Linked DNA regions of Homo sapiens: region 2 is linked to region 1. The links are contacts of gene promoters, found by promoter capture Hi-C in blood cells and fetal thymus (Javierre and others, 2016). All regions are on one chromosome and are shown on one strand. Each heading gives the region's core, a stretch centred on a gene start or on the middle of the fragment in contact. The rest is flanking DNA. Distances are from core to core; before and after follow the strand shown. Region 1 holds the start of JAM2 (junctional adhesion molecule 2). Region 2 overlaps JAM2 (junctional adhesion molecule 2).

Region 1 (6,855 bases), core at 2,063-4,562:
AAGATATAAAGAATGCTGATAAACAGCAGGATAAAAAGGAAAGAAGGGAGTAAGCATGATATTATAAATGATAGGAGTGGCCAAAAGAATGGCACAGTTACATCTGGGAAGAATATTAAAAAGATGAATATGTAATAACAGCATAAGAAATCCACTAAGTCTTTAATAAATAAAATAGTATTGGATTATAACCCAAAGTATAAAACAAATATTTATGAGCCCATACTGATAGAAAAATAAATGATTAAATAAATAAATGAAGGGAAGGGAGAGACCCATCTCCCATGCAGAAGAGCTCCAAATAATTTATGAAGATACTCCGCCTTCAAGGAGATGGAGCATAACTCTCCTTCCTGAAGAAGTGTGGGTTGCATGTAGTGACTTCCTTCCAAAAAAATCTAGTATGGAAATGAAGAAAAAAGGGTAGGTAATCTGTGGAGAAAACTGGTATGCACTACATTAGGAGTATGATTACAGGTGACCTAGGTTCACATCAACAGCAATAAGTCATGTGTACGGTATGTTCCCTGGAGATAATGTGATGAAAATGTCACTTTACCTAGGCCCCTTACCACTTTCTGATCTTCCTCCAAAAAACCTATAACCCCAGTCTAGTTATGAGAAAAATATCAGAGAAACAGCAATTCGCAGTCATTCTACCAGATACTTGACCAGAACTCCTCAAACCCATTATAGTAAGAGAAAGCAAGGGAAGCCTAAGAAACTGTTACAACCAAGAAGAACCTAAGGAATCAGGACAACTAAATGTAATATGGTAGCCTGGATGGCATCCTGGAATAGAAAAGGCATTAGGTAAGAATGAAGGAAATTTGAATAAAGTGTACCATACTAATGTAAGATATTAACAATGTGGGAAACTGGGTGTGGAGTATATGAGAACTCTCTATACTAGCGTTGGAATTTTTATTTAAATCCAAACTGTTCTAAAATTGTTTTAAACATAAAAAAAAAAACACCCACATACAAAGAAAACACTCTTGCAATGCCAGATCTTTTAGTATCCCAGGAACAATATAGAAAAGTCCCCACAACACTTCCAAATACATCCCCTATAGGAATCAAGTTTAGCAGAGACAATGTGTTATATTTACCTAAAGCTTGAAGAGGTCACTCAGCCCCATTCATTTATGCTTTTGTTCGCCTCTTGGTTGTTTCTCCACTACAATTTCAGACTTGGGGTGTATTGTTTCTATGTTGGTGATTCAATAGGAATAGCACAGCAGAACGATTTTCTGTTTTTAATTAGTGACAATTCTACACTAAAAGGCACACTCTTTTCTATTTGAAATTTAGAATTTCAGCAGAATACATAACTTTCTCAGTTGTTCTGTTAACGATTTCTCCAGCCTACCTCTCTGTTGCCTTTTAGCATGAGTGCATTTTTTTTCTTCTGTGTGTTCCATATGATACCAATTGATATTTCAGAATTGCACAAGGGTTTCATTGTGAAACTTTGGCTTTCTGGTTTGACTTTATATAATATTGGTCAGTACATGTCCCTTGCCTGAGACAATGTGCACCTTCCTCCTCCACAAAGGGACGTGGCTCACATCACTTGAGCTGTGCGATGATCACTTGGGCAGCGAGGGCGTGAGAAAATATCATTGTATTGTGGTATTAGACACTCGTCCCGCAGGTTAAGTATTATAAGTGTTACTTTACCAGAACGTGAATAGCAACAATAACTCATTTTACAAAAGAAAGAAAGAGAGACAGAAAGAAAGAGAGAGAGAAAGAAAGAAGAAAGAGAAAGGAAGGGAGGAAGGAAGGAAGGGAAAAAAGCAAAACAAAAAAGGTGAGAGAAAAAAGAAAAAGCAAAAGTAGAACTGCATTGCTTAGTCTATTGTAATTTCCTCCATTTTCCTAAAAAGTTAACGCGAAGAAAACAAAATAACGGCAACGTTCCCAGGATTTCAAATCTCATGAGTCCAGAATCCGTGAAAATCCTGTTTAAAATCATCCGGTGAAATTGGCTTTGGGACGTCTCCCCAGCTACTGGATCATGTGGCTTCTGAATCTTTCTAACAATCGTCCCGTTGGATGTCCCCTGAGGACAGAGCAGCTGGCTAGAGTCCCCAGACCAGACTTCTCTAAGTGAATGTAGATGTGCAGGTGGAGAGGATAAAAGTAATTCTGGCTCAGCAGCCACGAATTCCCTCCACCTCCGCCCCACAAGTGCGCTGCATATCGCCGGCTCAGCTGGGACGCTACAGAGCCCAGACCACGCGGACGCTGCCCCCTCCCCGGGGACTCAAAGTGTGGCCGGCGCCCGCCTCCCAGTGATGCCATCTTTCTTGGGGTCTTAGCATCTTACCAGTGGGTAGTGAGTTTTGCATTCGAATCACGTCCCTCTGTCTGAAAACTTACCCCAACTTTGCAAACAGATGAGAACCTGCTAGTGGGAACCCTTAATTTTCTGTATCTAGAACTGACAAAATCAGACGCAATTCACAAGAAACCCACGACCTCGCGCTCCCTTGCTCCCAGCGTCCGCTCGCGGGCACCCTGGGTTTCCCGCTCGCCTGGGCGCAAGGTCAGACGCCCCGCGGCGACCTCGGCCCAGAGCCGCCCAGACACTGTCAGCCAGCGCCCCGTGGGGGGCTGGAGGGTGGGGGCAGGCTGGTCCAGGCAGGAAGGGTAGAGGAACCCGAGCAACTTACAGCCCAGGGCGACCACCAGGTAGCGCAGCAGCAGCAGGAGGAGGCGGTGGCGGCTCCTCCTCGCCATCTTCCCGGGGCGGCAGCCGGCTGCTCTGAGGAGGTCGAGGGTCCCGGCGGCAGGAGCGCAGGAGGCCGGGGGCCCTTGAACTTCTGGGGCGGGAAAGGAGCAGAGAGTCGGGAGGGGAGGAAGAGGAGGGACGGCTCTAGATGGGATGTCAGTTTCCCCCTCCCCGGGGCGCCTTCTCAGCTGGCTGCCAAGAGGCGGGTCCTCCAGCCCAGGGATGGGGGTCTGTTCTGTTTTGGGGGTGTGGGGGTAGGGGCTAGAGGGCGTGAAAACCAGACGAGGCGTCCGCCGGGTCCTAGCGAGGGGGCAGCAGGAGGAGAGCAGCGCCCGGGAAAGCCCCGGCGGGTCGTCCCTCCGCCCCCACGCCTCCGGGATTGATCGGCTTTGTGTCTGGTCCGCGCGGGGCTGCCAGCTGTCCCCAGGGCGAGGAGCTGGGGGCGGGAGGCGCGGGCAGGCTGGGGGTGGGGGGATTGGGTGTCTCGGGGACGGGGATGTATGCGGGTAGGGAAACGCCTCCTGTTTTGCCCCAACTCCTTTCTTCCCCTCGTTGGCTCAAAACTTCTTTCTGGCTTTTCAGCCTAGGGGTGGAGATATTTGGAAAATTCTGCCCAACGGGCGAAGCTGAGGGGGTGGCGCTCTGAGGAGATGGGGTTCGCGGGCTCCGCCTCGAACTCGAGAAAAAAAAAAGCAATCAAGACTCGTGCTGGAAGTCAGGTCTCAGATTTTAGTACAGCCTTGGTCCCTTCTCAGTTTAAGCTTTTTGCTCCTTGGAGATTTGAGGTGCATTTGTCTCGCGTTCTTGTTCTTTGCTTTTTTTTCAGTGTCAGAGTTGGAAGTTCATCTAATGGTGTGAAATATTTATCATGTTTCTTTCAAGTTACATAACTGCTGCTTGTGGAGTTTTCCACGTGTTAAAACTCTACAGCTGCCCTTTGTCAGGTTTATTTTTGGTCTACTGTGCTTTTAAAAGGGAAACCCATTATGAATGCTCTGTTGCGTGCTTTAAAATTGCACCACACTTACATTGGACGCACGTACACTGGCAATTTTTATATTTGTTCCTAGGGACCAAAAATGTATGGTGTATTCAAGAGTATTGGCAGGTCTGGAAAAAGGCCATTCCCAGGAGAAGAAATTAGTATACATCAGTTTTTTTCTTTTGTTTTTTTGTTTGTTTTTGTTTTTGTTTTTTTTTAAAGGTTGAATAATGGATGAAGTTCTGTACAGCAGATAGTTGATTTAGTGGTGTATTTAAAAAGAATTCAGCTAGCTCAGTGGACAAAGGCGACCAGAGTTTAGCTGTGCAGAACTGTGAGGAATGAGGCATCCTTGCTGTTGCCGTGGTGACAGTGATGAAAACTTAGTACCCAGGGAGGGGGTGGGAGGAGAGGACCCAGGGGACCCAGAAAGGAAAGTCAAAATGGCAAAATGTTAAAACTCGTACTCCAGTCAACCGAGGAGAAGGGGCACAGATTTAACAACAGCTTATGCCAGTTTTTCTGGGCAGTAATGAGAAGGATTTGATGCTTAAAAAGAAAAGTTGTTGGCATCTTCTTTTTTCTAATTCTTGCTACAGCTATATGTCTTTTACTCCTCCCTAAAAATATACACAAAAATGTCATACTTAAAAAAATTCTATGCAATCCTATGTGAGTAACTGACTAAGTTATTTATTTGCCACCCAGCCAAGGCATTTGACAAATGGCAACAATGTGCTGGATGCTGAAGGACAACCATGAACAAGATAGAGGCTTTCTTGCTAACAAGCTCACAGTCTTGAGGGGAGACAGAGTCTTATCAGGAAAGATGCCTGATACCACATGGTAAATGTTACAGGAGGACAGAAAATAATAACAGCTATTTTTATTGCATGCTTTCTCAGTGATGGAGTCTGAATAACGCAATATCTAATCCCCCAACAACTCCATAAAAGAGGAAATGTTATCATTCCCACTTTGCAGATGAGAAAACTGGGCGGAGAGACACTAAATGGCTTGTCCAAGGTCCATGATAAGGGGCTGTTCCTTTTGTTGGGAGTGGGGCCAGGGCTTTCTTTATTAAACCTTGAAAAATGGGTCAAATTCTGAAGGGAAGGACATAAAGGAGAGGCATTCTACATAGAGGAAACAGCAGGATCCAGAGCTAGGAGATTGAAAAATTATGGTTTATTTAGAAAAAGCAAGGTTCTACAGTACTAAAGTGTATGTGGGATCGGGATAGTGAGGTAGGTGGTGGTGGTGGTAGAAACTGAAGGGGAGGTTAGAGTACGAAGAGCATTCACGCTACTGTCTAGACCTCATCCTACAGCTAATGAGCTTTTTGAAAGCAATGAGATAAGAAAAGACTCATATTTTAGAACTGTGGTGTCCAATATGGTAGCCTATAGATCTAAGTGGCTATATACATTTTTTTTGTTTTGTTTTTAATTTGAGACAGAGTCTCACTTTGTCACACAGGCTGGAGTACAGTGGTGCAATCTCAGCTCACTGCAACCTCCGCCTCCCAGGTTCAAGTGATTCTCCTGCCTCAGCCTCCTCAGTCCAGTAGATGGGACTACAGGCATGTGCCACCATGCAGGCTAATTTTTGTATTTTTTGTAGAGATGGGGTTTCGCCATGTTTGCCAGGCTGGTCTCGAACTTCTGACCTCAGATGATCCACACGCCTTGGCCTCCCAAAGTGCTGGAATTACAGGTGTGAGCCACCATGCCTGGCTGGCTATATAAATTTGAATTCAATTATATGTAAAATGCAGTTCTCCACTGACACTGATCACATATGAATTTCTCAATAGTCACATGAGGGTAGGGGCTACCATATTGGAAAATGTATTTCCATCATTGCAGGAAGTTCTACAAGAGAGTGCTGCTCTAGAATGATGACTCATATTGAAATGTGCAGGATGGATTACAGAAAAGAGAATCAGGGTGTTAGTCAAGTCTAAACTATTACAATATCCTGAGAAAGAGACCAAGTTGTGAAGTAAATGGTCACCGTGTGATAAATGAAAAACCGGGTGGATTCAGATGATATTTCACAAACATGGTCAACAGGATTATGTTATCAGCTAGATGTAGGGGTGAGAAAGGAGAGAACATGTAGGTATCAGATTTCTAGCATAGGTGGCTGTATGTGGAGGTTATAAATAGTGTCATTAAAGGAATAAGAAACATAGAGGGCATACATAATTCCTGCAGGTTTGGGATGAGTTGAGAGAGAGAAATATAGCTGGGGTGACCAGTAGACTGTTAGAATGAGTGCTCTAGAGAACAGGAAACCCTCAGGATTGACTAAAGAAATAAATATAAATATTAGCAGCATCTTCTAGAACAGTGATCACTGGACTATCTTCTCCCCAGAATCCTTTGGAGCTCCTTCATTATGATTCTTTCCTTAAAATTATGTTAAAATTCTGAGTTTCAGAAGTTTTAATCTCAGCAGCCCCAGGAAGCTGTATTATTAACAAGTACCTTGATTAATTCTGATGCAACGAATCTATGGATTATTGTTTGAGGAACTTTCTAGAAGGCAGGAGCAGTGAATGAGATCAATCAGACAAAGAAGTGAATGTTTATGGATAAATCTAAGGAAATAACTGCAGTAAGAGGTAGGAAGAGAAAGAACCCAGAGAAAGAACACAAGAAAGAGCAGTCAAAAAGTACAAAAGGAACTGGGAGAGAATCAGGAGCTAAAGGTGGAGGTGTTTGTACAGTCCAAGGCTAAAAAGAGGGTTGAGAATTGTCTCTTGTATTTAGTGTCTATGAGGGTATTGCCCACATGGATAATAGAGAAAGCAAGCCTCCAAAAAACATGTAGAAAAAATTTGCAGACTTGAGTTTTATACTTAGTAAAGCAACTAATGCATAAGATATATTAAAAATATTTAAAAATTTTTTTAATTATTATGGGTACATAATAGTTTTATATATTTATGGGGTACAGGTGATGATTTGATACAAGCATACAGTGTAGCAAGCAGGGTAATTGGAATATCCACGTCCTCAAGCATTTATCATTTCTTTGTGTTAGGAATATAACCACCCAATGGGTTCACCTTGCCCGATGCCCAGATAGAGCTGATTTATCAAGACAGGGCAATTGTAATGGTGAA
Region 2 (6,855 bases), core at 1,721-4,220, 69 kb before region 1:
TACAATCTGCCCCCACCGCTACTTTTGTACGCTCATCTCCTCTGTTTCTCTCATTCTGTTCCAGCCACCCTGGTCCCGCTGACATCCCTCAGATATTCTAGGCTTGCCTGGCCTCAGGATCTTTCAATTTGCTCTCTCCCCTCTGCCTGAACGCTCTTCTCATGGTTATTTGCACAACTTGCTTCCTCACCCTCTTCAGGCCTTTCTCAAAAATCACTTAGTGAGATCCTTTCTGACCACCCTATTTGAAATTAGAATCTCTACTCCTACCCTTTGTATTGTATATTCTCTTATTTGTTTTATTTTTCTCCATAATGGCCCTATCTGATATACTATATAGTATTACCTGTTTATTTTCTGCCTTTCTCTACTAGAATGTAAGCTCCATAAGGCAGAGTTTTGTGGGGTTTTTGGCCTGTTTTGTTCACTGCTGTATCCCCATTCCTTAGAACAGTGTTAGGCACAAAATTGGTATTCAATTAATATAAAAAAATGACTGTTAACTAAAATTTTATTTGAAAATTTTCAATTTAGCAAAATACAGTAAATTTTTTTTAAGTTAGTTTATACAAATGCCTATGAAATCAAATTAGTGACCATATTTCTTGTCTGGGTAATCATCATTCTCTCTGTACTACCATTTACAAGTAGGCTGGGTAATCATCATTCTCTCTGTACTACCATTTACAAGTAGGTATGAAGTGTGAAGTGGGATGTTGATAGAGTCTGGATATTTGCCTTGCCCAAATCTTATGTTGAATTGTAATCCCCAATGTTGGAGGTGGGGTTTGTTGGAGCCGATTAAATCATGGGGGCGGATTTCTCATGAATGGTTTAGTACCGCCCCCTTGATGCTGTCCTCAGAATAGTGACTGAGTTTTCTTGAAATCTGGTTGTTTAAAAGTATGTGGCACCTCCCCAACCTTGCTCCTGCTTTTGCCATGTGACGTGCCTGCTCCCGCTTTGCCTTCAGCCATGAGTAAAAAGCTTCCTGAGGCCTCCCCAAAAGCCAAGCAGTGTTGGTGCCAGGATTGTACAGCTTGCAGAACCGTGAGCCAATTAAACCTCTTTTTACAATAAACTACCCAGTCTCGGGTATTTTCTTACAGCAATGCAAGAACAGCCTAATACAGATGTATTTCTTGATAAACTTGAGTAACTTCTTGTGAGAGTAAACCTACACAAATAACCCAACTTCTCTCTTTTGACTTTAAACAGATGATTAATAGAAAATTAGTTGACATAGGAGAAAGACATGCATTGTAGGAAAGTATACTTACTGGAAGGAGGTTTCTTCTACAAAAGAAAAAGTATATATCATTAATGCAAGGGTTATTATGGTATGATACAGATTCATATAAAAATGAGTTTGGGTTTAATTTATTTTTATTAATTTTAATCTTCACTTGCTGACGTTTATACCTTCTAAATTAAGAGTTGGCAAACTTTTTTGGTAAAGAGCCATACAGCAACCATTTTAGGCTTTGGGGCCAAGAGGATACTATATAGGTACTTAAGTAACAAGAGAGCAAACAAATTTCCAAACATTTTTATGGATAAAATAAAAATATAATAATAATAATAACAATAATAATAAAAGTCTTGAAAAACAGGCCTACTAGTTAGAGAAATGGAATGCTTTTGGGGAAGATAACATTTCTCTTAATTGGGGTTCAAAGTCAGCGGGCCCTATCATCAAATAGATTGTAAATGTTCATCTGTAAAGCCATTTTTGTTCATAGGCCATAGAAAAATAGGCGGGGAGGGCAGATTTGGTCCACAGATAGTAGTCTGCCAACCTCTGTCCTAAACATATATTCAAGAATATGCTTCTCTTGGATAGATTTTTCTGCTAGATGAAAAATCAGAGTAACATTCTTAGGTAACGAACTCCTAATATTCAAGTCAACTTTTAATTAATTCAATATTTTAGGAAAATTTTTTTACTAACTCCTCATTAAAAAAACTCAGACCAGTATTATTTTAGGCTATAGATAAAGATGACAAGAGTTTTGGAAGAGTTATCTTATTTGTCTGTACTTTCACTGATGACCAGCAGGGGGCCACAGCTGGATTCAATTCATAAAGTTACATTAAAGTGGGCTAAATTGAAGCACTGAACAAGTATTAATTGACAGAGCCGCTCTTTTTGTTTGTTTGTTTGGTCAGTGTCTTGCTCTGTTATCCAGCTTGGAGTGCAGTGGTGAGATTACAACTCACTGCAGCCTCGACCTTCTGCGCTCAAGCGATCCTCCTACTTTAGCCTCCTGAGTAGCTGGAACTAAAGGTGTGTGCAACGATGCCTGGCTTATTTTTTATTTTTTGTAAAGAAAGGGTCTCCCTATGTTTCCCAGGCTGGTCGTGAAGTCCTGGACTCAAGTGATCCTCCTGCCTCGGCCTCCCAAAGTGTTGGGAATGCAAGTGTGAGCCACCACACCCAGCCCAGTTATTCTTAATTATAGGGCATCTCTTTGAATCCATGTCCACGGAAACATTTTATGAGACATAATACCTAGTTGTAGGTATTATTAGGAACACATTTTATATTTAAGTTTATTTTTGGCATAAAATATATTTTTAAAGGCCAAGAGTGGTGGCTCACACCTGTAATCCTAGCATTTTGGGAGGTTGGGATGGGAAGATTCCTTGATCCCAGGAGTTCAATACCAGCCTGAACAACAGAGCAAGAACCTGTCTCCACAAAAAATAAAAGAAAATTAGCCAGGTGTGGTGGTATGTGCCTGTAGTCCCAGCTACTTGAGAAGGCTGAGGTGGGAGGACTGCTTGAGCCCGGAAAGTCAAGGCTGCAGTGAGCCTTGATCACACCACTGCACCAGGCATGGGTGACAGAGTGAGACCCTGTCTCAAAAAAAAAAAATTGTTTTAAAAATCTAAATTCCGAAATTAATGTTCGCTGTAAAACAATGGGTCTAGAACTTGTATATGCTATAAATTTATAATTCAATTAAGAATTTTATTTTACACACTATTGCCAGTGGCCCTGATAGAATGCTGCAGCTTCTGAGCTCTCCAATAATATTAAAGAGGGAGTGAAGAAATGCATTAAGAGAATAAAACATTTTTAAATCCCACCCATTTACATCAAACCTATTGCATTATCAAATGGAGGTGTGAAGTTACAAGAGGTCTAAATTTGAAGAATTCAAAACTGTGTACAGAAGTAGCTCTCATAAATACAATAGGTTTCTATTTTTGACTGAACAATTCTCTTTTTTTGTTGTTTTTTTGAGATGGAGTCTTGCTCTGTCACCCAGGCTGGAGTGGAGTGGCATGATCTTGGCTCACTGCAACCTCCACCTCCCAGGTTCAAGTGATCCTTCTGCTTCAGCCTCCTCAGTAGCTGGGACTACAGGTGCATGTCACCACTCCTGGCTAATTTTTGTATTTTTAGTAGAGACGGGGTTTCACCATGTTGGCCAGGCTGGTCTCGAACTCCTGACCTCAAGTAATCCTCCCGCCTCAGACTCCCAAAGTGGTAGGATGACAGGCATGAGCCACCACACCCAGCTGAACAATTCTCTTCTAAATACAGTTGTCCTAAATTTAACATTCAACATTTCACTGTTCTACACTGATGAAATATTTCACTTATTTATTTCAATGAAATTTCTTAAAGAATTTGAAATCAACTTATATCTTGAGATATACAATTCCTAACTTAAAAATATCTTGTCTGGGCGCGGTGGCTCACACCTGTTATCCCAGCACTTTGGGAGGCCAAGGTGGGTGGATCAGGAGGTCAGGAGATTGAGACCATCCCGGCTAACACGATGAAACCCCGTCTCTACTAAAAATACAAAAATTAGCCGGGCGTGGTGGCGGGAGCCTGTAGTCCCAGCTACTCGGGAGGCTGAGGCAGGAGAATGGTGTGAACCTGGGAGGTGGAGCTTGCAGTGAGCCGAAATTGCGCTACTGCACTCCAGCCTGGGCGACACAGTGAGACTCCGTCTCAAAAAAACAAACAAAAAAAAATCTTAAAAACATGCAAAGATACTATAAATATCCGTTCACATTGAATATCTCTGTCTCGCTGCACTGCACCACTCCAAGGATGCCTCTTGCATATTCTGTGGTGCTCCCTGGAATGTGCAACTAGGCAGTTCTGCCTTTTCTCCCTAGGTTTGCCAAGGTGTTTCATAAGCCACCTGCATGTCATCCTGAACATTTTCTATAGCAGAAAATAAATGAACAATATTCTCCAGAGTTTGTTAAAACTTGCTAGGAGAGGGCCGGGCACAATAGCTCACACCTGTAATCCCAGCACTTTGGAAGGCCAAGGCAGGCAGATCACTTGAGGCCAGGAGTTCGAGACCAGCCTGGCCAACATAGCGAAACCCCATCTGTACTAAAAATACAAAGATGAGCTGGGTGTGTTGGTGCACACTTGCAATCCCAGCTATTTGGGAGGCTGAGACATGAGAATCACTTGAACCTGGGAGGTGGAGGTTGTATTGAGTGGAGATTTTGCCACCACTGCACTCCAGCCTGGGCAACAGAGCAAGACTCTGTCTGAAAAACAAACAAACAAACAAAAAAACAACTTCCTAGGAGAAACAGTATCTCATAAATAAACTCCATAGCCATAGAAAGTTATCTGCCAAAGAAGGGTGAAATTCACTTACTTGAAAAGTAGCCTTTCCTCTGAGCATAGCATACACCAAGGCCACAAACGGAAATCACTAAGGCCACAACTACTACGGCTGCTATGATGCCACTTATGTTGAGATCATCTGGAATGTAAAATAAATTACGCATAAATATATGTGGATTACACGGACAGATGCAGTCATTAAATTGAAAAGGTTCAAAAAAAGATCCCCTTTGCAGCTATATCATAAAGCATACTTTAACGATTGTGAAGCCTGTTCAACTAACTCACTTCTAAGACATGGTTCAAAATTGATTAAAAATATTAACAGAACTTAAGCTTTGGAAAAATACTAAATTTTAAAAACTTCTCAGATTAAAAAATAAAATGTATTCTTTTGCATTCATTTGGAGATGTGTAATAATTCACAGGATTAAAAGACTGGAAGCAATCTTTGAAGTTCAATGAGTTCAAGTATTCTACTGCCACTCCCTACCCCACGTCTTACTTAAAATTCTCCTACATCATCAACTGTGTCAATTTCACAAATAAAGAAAAACTCAACGTCAAAGAAAACACATGGTGCCAGGCATGTTGACTCATGCCTGTAATCCCAGCTACTCAGGAGGCTGAGGTGGGAGGACTGCTTGAGGCTAGGAATTTGAGACCAGCCTAGGCAACATAGCAAGAATCCATCTCTAAAAAATAAAAAAATTAAAAAAATTATCCGGGTATGGTGGTGCATTCCTGGAGTCCCAGCTACTCAGGAGGCTGAGGTTGGAGGATCACTTGAGCCTAGGAGTTTCAGATTATAGTGAACTATGATTGCACTACTTCTCTCCAGTCTGGGTGACAGAGCAAGACTGTCTCTTAAAAAAAAGCACATGTCATTGTTATTCTGTAAAACTAAGTGTAAGAAATACGTTCCTTCTTGAATTATATGGGTGTAGATATACAATTATATGTATATGGGTGTATACACACATACACAGTCATATACATATATGCAACTAAACTGTCATCCCATTTATGAAAAATGAATTAAATTCTCTGAGGCTTTTCCTATGACTGTTAAGGCATCCGTCCTCTAATGTAATGCAACTGGATTTTTTGAACCCAAGTTTGGAAATAACTACTGTGAAGTTTTTTTCTTCTTCTCAGATTGATTCTGTTGCCTAATAATTACATTATTAACCTTCCAAGCTTAACATTTCTGCAAATTGAGAATTTTATTAAAAATACTCTCATTCAAGTCATTAATAACATGATGAACATGGATTTGTTTAGGAAACAACTATGTAACAGGCTAGCAGACACCTCCTGTCATACAACACAATTTATTAACATTCTCTGAGCATGGGATTCAACTGTGTGTGGATCCACCAAAATATTGTTTGGACCATATTTCTCCATCTTGTCCATGAGGATTTTATGAGCCACACTCTTCTGCCATTTAGATACTTCCCATGTATTTATTAAAGGAGCAATTCTTCAAAGAGTTCCCATTTTACAAAGCAAGTTTTAATTAGCCTATGATTAAATAACCTAGAGAAAATATTACATAGCATTTTCTCAAAAATAATTTAAATATTTTAAAGCAATGTACATTTTGGAAATGATCTTTTTAGAGATACTGTTTAAGTGAATCTGCTTATCATAAAAACTTCTGGTCTCGAAATTCTTTCCTAATGCCAAGTGTGTTATTAATTTTCTTAAATACCTCCAAAATATTAATTGATTTTTTTAAAAAAGAAAACTTGATAAGTCTTTTGAAAGGTTAAGTAATTTGACCAGAGTAGAAAACATTAATTATTGCTTGGTATAAACTCAGTTTGCTTGGGTATTGAGAGGTCAATAAGATTCAGCTTTTTATTTACTTGGATTAAAAAGAGCAGAGAGAGAAAAAAATCTACAGTAATCATAATCTTAGGCAAAGTCAAATCAGTAAGTGAAATTCCTGAGAACCAAAGTGTACCTTCTATTTACTTTGTAGTAGTCATTAAATCTGACATCTATGAAGCATTCAAAGTAAGGGCTATTATCTGACAAAAAAAAAAAACTGTCTTGTAGTTTGTCAATGAATTTGACATCTATGAAGGAAGGATTCACCCTAAAAGAAACTACTGACAAAAAATTGTCTTGTTCTGTAAGTGCTAAGTTGTAGTATGAATTTTATGTTATTTTTCTTCAGTGAAATGGGAGACAGAAGAGTAATAGATAAGGAGTAAGTTAACTTCTTACATCCT

Evidence for each region. The method cuts DNA at HindIII sites, captures the fragments that hold promoters and counts their contacts. A CHiCAGO score of 5 or more calls a contact.
Region 2: a contact is called between a fragment that was not itself captured here and the fragment with the promoter of JAM2 in region 1, in 1 of 17 cell types (megakaryocytes). The highest score is 5.9, in megakaryocytes.

The regions. Positions count from the first base shown.
Region 1 is chr21:25,635,715-25,642,569 of GRCh38, reverse strand. It overlaps JAM2 (junctional adhesion molecule 2), which reads right to left and starts at 3,312. Exons shown (of 10, transcript NM_021219.4): 1 at 2,682-3,312. The coding sequence starts at 2,748. RefSeq lists enhancers at 2,330-2,399, 2,302-2,802, 3,540-3,679 and a silencer at 3,130-3,319. The HindIII fragment of the contact is 2,383 bases long and covers 1,121-3,503 here.
Region 2 is chr21:25,703,875-25,710,729 of GRCh38, reverse strand. It overlaps JAM2 (junctional adhesion molecule 2), which reads right to left. Exons shown (of 10, transcript NM_021219.4): 7 at 4,644-4,751; 8 at 1,281-1,296. All of the region lies in intron 1 of LOC124905002 (a long non-coding RNA gene), which reads left to right. Among named protein-coding and RNA genes, the nearest start is that of ATP5PF, 28 kb to the left of the region's middle. The HindIII fragment of the contact is 3,961 bases long and covers 990-4,950 here.